Regions from separate parts of the Homo sapiens genome. Here region 1 is linked to region 2. The links are contacts of gene promoters, found by promoter capture Hi-C in blood cells and fetal thymus (Javierre and others, 2016). All regions are on one chromosome and are shown on one strand. The core of a region is centred on a gene start or on the middle of the fragment in contact, and the rest is flanking DNA. Distances in the headings are between cores, read along the strand shown.

Region 1 (3,918 bases), core at 172-2,671, 120 kb after region 2:
GTGAGGAGAGAGGAAGTCAGAGTGGTAGGCTGGCCCTAGGCGTTGCATGGAGGAATTTGTAATTCATTTCATTCTGGGAGAGTGGTATTGGGATAATTTGGTGTGGGGAGAGGCAGGCGGCGAGGAGACCACTATTGCAGAAGCCAGAGAAAGGCCTGAATTAGGAGGGTGGAAGGGAGAGAAATTCTGGAGGACTTGTGGGATTTGGCAGTTGAATGCTAAGTATGAAAGAAGGAGGGAAAAAAAAAAGTTGAAGGCAGCTTTAAGATTTTATGCCTAGGCTAGGTGTGGTGGCTTACACCTGTAATCCCAGCACTTTGGGAGGCTGAGGCGGGTGGATCACCTGAGGTCAAGAGTTTGAGACCAGCCTGAACACTGCAGTGAGCCATGATCACCCTGCTGCACTCTAGCATGGGTGACAGAGTGAGACTCAATCTCAAAAAGCAAACAAAAACAAAAAACAAGCACAAGACCAGTGATAGAGTTTCCTGTGGAAGGGAGGAAGACACTTCTTTCTCAGATAAAACAGTGAAAAAGAGCAAGATGATTAAAAAAAAAAGTATAATCAAGTGGCCCAGCAGTTCCTAGGCAGCAATGACAACTGCAGTTCCTTGGTCACTAACACACTTCCATGGATTCAGCCAGTAAGGAGACAGTGAACCCAGATGGATTTGGACAGTTACTGCTTAATGCACAGCAGGCAGCATTAGCTTCATGTTCACATTGATTCTCCTTGTCCCCCAAGTTCAATGGGGTGATGTAGAGGTAGGCTGAGGTGCATACAATGCACTCAGTGGGTCTTTGTTATAGCTGAGGGGCAGTGAGCTTAGGAACCCTCCGGTATTATGAGGGAGCTGCTAGTGATCCTGCTCAATCTTTGTCCTGAAGGAATATGTTACCTTATATTGCTTAGGAAACAAATCTGCCCCCTGACCTGGAGGGATAAACTCTAGCTTCCAAGGCTGTCGGTTATGCAAAAGTCCTTGAACAAAGATATTAATGCCCTTTGCTCAGAAGGCATTCAGAAATGCCAGATTGTGGGCATCCGACCCGCAGACACTGACCTAGTGATGGATGAGAGACGTACACTGACACAGACATTTTGCTTGTCAGTGTGGCTAAAGGGGTTCTGCTCCTGAATCTGCAGTGTAGGCCATGATAAGCCGGTGAAGTTCACATTTATTTAGTACAGATTAAATGACAAGGGTCATGAGTAAACACCACTAGAAGGTAATTAACATTGCCACCCCTCCCCACCCCCCCCAGGGGAGAGCAGTCATGCACCCACAGATAATCAAAGGTTGCTCTTAGGACCACATGAGTAAACAAGCTATTTAGGTAAACTCTCCCACATTCCCTTGTTATTTGCTCTTTTGCTATCAACTCGAGGTAAAGAGGATTCGGCTGCTTTCAGCCAAATCTTTTACTGAAGCTATGCACCACCACCCCCCAGCCTTCTAAGAAGGTTTGTGACTATTTCCTATAACTATCTTTACAATTTTTCCTCTGCAGTTTTTCCCACCACCCTGACTGAACTCCCACACCAGATCCCTGGAGAATTATCTACCAACACAGACATTTATGTTTATATAAATTATATGTACATGTATATGTACGCATATTTATGAATAAAGAAATGTTTAGGTGTAGAAGAGAAGTCAAGGAAGATCACTTGGGATATATCCCTGCTCTCGTGTTCTGAAACACTGGATTGAGTCAATATGATGGGATCTGTGTCTTACCTGTCATTTTCCCTCAGAGACTAGTACAGTGCCTTGAGCTTAGTAGGTGTTCAGTGAATGCTTGTTCAATGATGAATGATTGAAGATCTTTAAAAGTTCTCCTCCTTCTTGAAGAGAGAATGTCAACTCCCTAGATGATTATTAGAAAGTTTATTCAGCCTAAATGGTTGTGTGTTGTCTGCAGTTCTATTTGTAATGTCTGTTTTACATATTGAAATGTACTATTTTAACATAGGCAGCCTACTTTAACAATAAAGTATTTTTTTTTAAAAGGGTAAGTAGTTAGGCCGGGTGCGGTGGCTCATGCCTGTAATCCCAGCACTTTGGGAGGCCAAGGCGGGTGGTTCACCCGAGGTCAGGAGTTTGAGACCAGCCTGGCTAACATGGAGAAACCCTGTCTCTACTAAAAATACAAAAATTAGCTGGGCATGGTGGCATATGACTGTAATCCCAGCTACTCGGGAGGCTGAGGCAGGAGAATTGCTTGAACCTGGCAGGCGGAGGTTGCAGTGAGCCGAGATCATGCCACTGCACTCCAGCCTGGGCGACAGAGTGAGATTGTGTCTCAAAAAAAAAAAGAATAAGTAACTAGATAGAAGAAGAAGGGTTTTGAGAAACATGATGGGTTTTGGAGGAATGTACAAAGTTAGATTTGGAAAATTCTTCTTATGAAATACACATATAAATTGTATCATTTTAATATGGTCTTCTTAACGGTTAACTGTCTATGTTTCCAGATGATGTCCTAAAATAGTCGTTCCTTGCAGCTGGTACTGAAGAGTGTATGAAAGAAAAACTCTGTAACAGATGTGTCTGGTCCTGTATGAATCAATATCTGTAGCAATGGCTTTTATATATGTGGAATCAGAAGGCTCAGGAAACAATTTTAATGTTCTGTTAGGTTCTTTAAAATGGGGATACATTCAGGTCTCAGTTGTTGAGGCTGTTGAGCAGCAATCCAGGTATGAAAATGGGAAAGATTTGACTGCTTCTCTCATGCAGGGGAATAAAGCAAAGGCACGTGCAGAGGGAAGTAGGGGTAGAGAGAGGCAAGTTAGCTTCAGAGAGATTTATTTGCACCCAGTTCTGTTCTACTCAGCCTGACGTTTTATCATCTTTTTGAAAAGTGGCATGAAGTGGTGTGGAACACATCAGAGGGTGAAGCCAAGCAAATCTGAAAGAGAGCAGAGGATTTCATATGATATCCTATGTGTGCTTTCCCCTTCCTTCTTAGGAGCTGGAAGAGGCAGAATTGATGTCCACTCAATTTCAGTTCATCTTGCCACCTTCATATTATACTGATACTAATATATGTGAAATAAGAAGAGAACATTCCAGGCAGTTACTATGTCACATGCAGTCATCAGTTTCTCTGCAACCCTACAACCACAGGGGATTCCATTGCTTGCTTTGACTTGGACTTCTCATAAAATGACTTTCGTTGGATTTAGTGTACAATTTTTAAGTTAATTACTGATTTTGTATATATGTGGTATTGTATCTTTGAAAGCTCATATGAGTTTATTAGGGATTTTCAGAATTATCAACTAAATCTGGCTAGAAAAAAAATTATCTGATGAAAAACCTTTCTGGTAACTTAATAAAAATGGGGTGATAGCAAGTGTAAATGCCAGTTAAATCCTGGGTGCTGGTGTGTGTGAATACATGAATACATGTGTATGGTTGAAGGAAATAATTTGTAAATCATAGCTTTCCTAGTATTACGTGTCCCTTCATAAAATAGCTCAGAGTTTTCTCATGAAAAATAAATTGACATTTGAGACAAAAGTTTGAACTTGCTGGTGTTCCATTCAAATTGAATAATGTACAGCTAATGATTATTTTTGGATGCCTTCCAGAGACAGATGGGACCGTGTTCAGAATTCACACAAAAGCTGAAGGATTTATGGATGTGGATATACCTCTGGAATTGGTGTTCCATTTGCCAGTCAATTATCCTTCATGTCTACCTGGTATCTCGATTAACTCTGAACAGTTGACCAGGGCCCAGTGTGTGACTGTGAAAGAGAATTTACTTGAGCAAGCAGAGAGCCTTTTGTCGGAGCCTATGGTTCATGAGCTGGTTCTCTGGATTCAGCAGAATCTCAGGCATATCCTCAGCCAACCAGAAACTGGCAGTGGCAGTGAAAAGTGTACTTTTTCAACAAGCACGACC
Region 2 (3,890 bases), core at 134-2,633:
CCAAAGTTGTCAGGTACTGCACATATTGTGAAGGGACTATGATGGGACACCGTGTGGTTCAAAGAGCACTGGAGCCCTGGTACATCCTGAGAGTCTTGGGGAGAAAAAGGGGAACACGCATTTGGGGGCCTGAAAGATCTTTCTCTCTGCTTGACTGCAGGGCAGGTTTCTGTCCCTCCCTGTTCTGTGGTATAGATTTTGTCTTTTCCACATCAGTCCAGGTCTTCAGAGTCACTATGAATTATTATTACCATTTTAAAGATGAAGAAATTGAGCCTCAGTGAGGTTCAGTTAGCTAAAGGCACACAACTCTAATAAACTGACAGAATTCCAGGTTCTGATTTAAATTCTATTGCCCTCTCTTGAAAATAAACATGGACAGCTTATATGAGCTTTTGTGTATATATTTTCTGGTCTAAATCTGCGGCAGATATGTGTGTCTTTCTGCGCATGTATATAGTAGATCAAATATGTTAGCTCTATTGACATTTCTTAGAAATAAATATCCTGTTATCAATGATAGTGTTTACAAATTATTTATTTAGAACTTACCTCTTTTCAAGAAAAGGCCTTGTGATTGCTCTCTGCGAATTATAATGCATGAGTATACCTCTTTGTTATTTTGTTTTGTTTCAGACAATTATCTCTGGTTGATGCAGATCACTTGGAGGCTTTTGGGGCTGTATATAACAGGTCAGAACATCTATTTAATGTCAAACTTTATCTACTAGGCAACTTGGAATTCTCAGCCAGCACCAAATATTCAAATCCAACTTCCACACCCCGACAACAGAGGGGTTCCGGGTGTAGGTGTAGTGCTGGTGCACCCATGAGGGTGTTTTTCAGGAATTCTGGAGGTGGTGCTGGAGAGAACACGCTTCTTCTACACGCGCCCCCTACCAGTTTGGTATGCACCTGCAGCCCCAAAGAAGAACTGGCGGGACTCGAGTGTGGCCGTGTCAGACGTGGCAAGAAAAACCAGCAGTTGCCTTTTCATCTCTTTTCTGATGATCTAACCATGAAGTCCCCAGTATTTGAGCATTTAAGGCAGAATGTAAATTCATAATTTAAGAAGATTTTTTGTTACGTGGCTAGCCCAGGTACTGACCGCTGCGGGGGCGGGCTCACACAGTTCCCCCGCTGGCAAGTTTTGTGACTTGCTTTGGAAAACCCGGGAATTGCACCCTCTGCCCTTGGCAAGGTGTGAGCTTCCAGGATCTCTCCGCTGCGACTTCGGGTGTTAGGGTTTTTGGGCTCTTTCCGGGACCCAAGTTCCAGGGCAAGAAGGTCTGCTCGGCGGCCCGCCTCGGGGCCCCGCCCACTTTGGCCAGGGTCGGAGCCGCCCGGAGCGGGAGCCGGAGCCCGAGCGGCCGCGGCCCCTTTAAGGAGCAGCTCTGCGGTAACCCGAGCCCGCAGTCCGGGCGGGCGCGACGGCCGCCGCGGTAGCTGGAGCCTCCGCGACTGCACCTCCAAGCGGCCCGGAACCCGCGGCTTCCCTGGCTCCCGTGAGCATCTCACCGGGCGGCACTGGCCAGCGCCAGCCCTCGGGCCGGCCCGGATGAGCAGACTCCTGTAGACACCCGCCGCCCTCTCCCGGCTCGGCGCAGCCGCCGCCCGCGCGCGACTCGCCCCGGGACCCGGCACAGGTGACGCCGTTTGGAGGGGGGGTTGGGGAGGAAGGCGGGCTTGCCTCGCCCCGCGGCTCCCCCGCGCCAGCCGCCAAGCGCAGCCCGCGGAGAGGGGTGCCGCGGCTTCCCGCCCCTGGCCTAGCGCGGCCGAGAGCTCCTGCGCCTGGAGGCTGGGTGGGCGTCCGGCGCGCGGGAGGCGGCCCGGGGCTCCCGGGCGGGCTCCGGCAGGTGTGTGCGGAAGGCTCAGCATCGTCCCCGCCCGGCGGGCCACGGCGTCGCTCCGGGAGCAAATGGTGTCCCGGGGCCCGCGGCCCCCGCGCCGCCCGGGCGCCCCGCATTCCTCTCGCGTTTCTCGGGCTGCACGATTCCGGCTGCCCTGTCTGCCTGGCGGTGCCTCTCGGGTCTGAGCTTAAAGCGGGTGGGTGCAAACCTTTGGGCATCCAGGGAGAGCTTTCTTGTTAGAGCCCACACACAATCGGGCGCATCAAGTGGGTAAGTCCCCCTCCCCCGCCGCCACCTTCTGAAACAAGTAGCTCTTATTTACCCTTGCAGTTCTCAAGTGGGTCCCATTTTTAGCCACTGAGTGCTGAAAAGTCTAGTGGGAAGGGACCAGGCGTAGAGTCGGAGGGAGAAATTGGTTTCTATTTCCATCTTTACCTCTGTAACCCCTAAGTGCCTCGGTTTACCCAGCCATGAAATGGGATTCGTAATGCCAGCAGTTTCCTACCCCTCCAAGACGGCAGAAAAACCTCTGTGAAAACACTTTGAGTCTAAATTCATTTAAGAGTCGCTGTTGCTGGTCTGTATATTTTTAATTGTACACACATTTGAGTGTTAATGTGGTGCACACTTTTATATGAAATTATGAAATTTACTTTAAAGACTGATCTTGGATAATGTTTAATCCAAATACCAGTTTGGAGAAGATGGAAGAGTTTGTGTGGACCCTAGGAATTGATGTGTGAAATAGGAAAAAAGATTTAATAAAATCTTTACGCAGTCATAAATGGAGTTGAGAAAAATTGACCTTGGATTGTGGTGTTTTAAGTGAGTTACTCCCGTGCCAGCGCATGGTGTCGATTGAAATGTAGCTTCATCTTTGTGTAGCCGATTAAGGTAATAAGTTAGAGAATCCCAGCTCCCTTTTAATTGTGCTATATATGAGGAATTTTTATCCTTGCTTATCTTTTCCTTAAATTGGGCGAAACGAAATTAGAAAAGTGTATTCCCGCCGTGTTAGAAAATATGAAAGAATGGGTGAAGAACCATGGATTTTAGTTTATTTGCCACGCCCCTCCTGTGCCATCTGATAACCCAGAGAATATTTTGAGGGTGCTTCTTTTTTTTTCTACGCCTGCAACTCCTTTTGTCCCATTACCTCCCTCTGGAGTTTGAATCTTTACTGTCCTCATCCTTGAGATGAATTTTATCTGTTTAGGCTGGATGCCTCTGACCCAGCTGCCCAATCAGTCATTATTTATTTACAGTATTAGATTTCCATTTATATTCATTTCACTCTAAGCCTTCTTTACCCTGGTGGAAAGAATAATGGGTCTTTGCTACTAATGCTTTATACTTGGAGGTGAACTAGGAATGGCATGCTCAAGGTGCTGAGACTAATGCAAACCCCAGGGAAGCTAGGTCTTCACTGGAGTCTTCTGAATAGGTCCTGGAGTACAGATGCAAGAGTTGGCCTGTCTTTTCCTTGATTTTCTGAAATCTCCACTGGGTAAATTCATCTGATTGCCAAGGGAAGTCTTATGAGCAGGGAGCTATCAGAAATCTGAGTGTTAGACTGATTAAGAGCCTTCCCTGCAAAAGACTGGGGAGAAAGAAGTAGTGGCTTTGTAGGTGTTGGAGAGTCCTCCCTGTAACCAGATAACTAGTAGGAAGTAAAGGATCCCTAGATTCCCAATTGAGAAATGGGAAAGGGGCTGGGTTTCAAAAGGGAAGTGGCACAGCTTCTAGGCAGGTTTGGGAATGTACCTGAGGTTTGATGGGCCCTTCTCCCTCTTTCTCTTTGAGAGTGTTTCTGGCTCCTCAGAGTCAAGCACAGCTGTCTTAACAGTTTTCAGACCTGTTTACTCTCCTCTTTGGTGCTCTAAAGGAGGCCCAGCGTTCATGTTCCTCTCTCAAAGCTGGTCTTGCATGTATTAGAGGAAAATGGGCAGTTTAGTTTGTAAGAAACTCTTTAGACCTCAGTGTCTCTCCCCACCCTTCTTTCCAAATTAGTCCCACATCCTACAGATTAAGGATTTGTTT

Evidence for each region. The method cuts DNA at HindIII sites, captures the fragments that hold promoters and counts their contacts. A CHiCAGO score of 5 or more calls a contact.
Region 1: a contact is called between a fragment that was not itself captured here and the fragment with the promoter of TLCD4 in region 2, in 1 of 17 cell types (total B cells). The highest score is 6.4, in total B cells.

The regions. Positions count from the first base shown.
Region 1 is chr1:95,240,610-95,244,527 of GRCh38, forward strand. It overlaps TLCD4-RWDD3 (TLCD4-RWDD3 readthrough), which reads left to right. Exons shown (of 8, transcript NM_001199691.1): 8 at 3,602-3,918. The coding sequence ends at 3,641. RWDD3 (RWD domain containing 3) reads left to right here. Exons shown (of 4, transcript NM_015485.5): 2 at 3,602-3,918. Among named protein-coding and RNA genes, the nearest start is that of RWDD3, 8.4 kb to the left of the region's middle. The HindIII fragment of the contact is 5,719 bases long and covers 1-3,918 here.
Region 2 is chr1:95,115,972-95,119,861 of GRCh38, forward strand. It overlaps TLCD4 (TLC domain containing 4), which reads left to right and starts at 1,384. Exons shown (of 7, transcript NM_152487.3): 1 at 1,384-1,646. It overlaps TLCD4-RWDD3 (TLCD4-RWDD3 readthrough), which reads left to right and starts at 1,952. Exons shown (of 8, transcript NM_001199691.1): 1 at 1,952-2,120. RefSeq lists a cis regulatory region at 1-136 and silencers at 1,391-1,537, 1,465-1,744, 1,825-1,874. The HindIII fragment of the contact is 12,433 bases long and covers 1-3,890 here.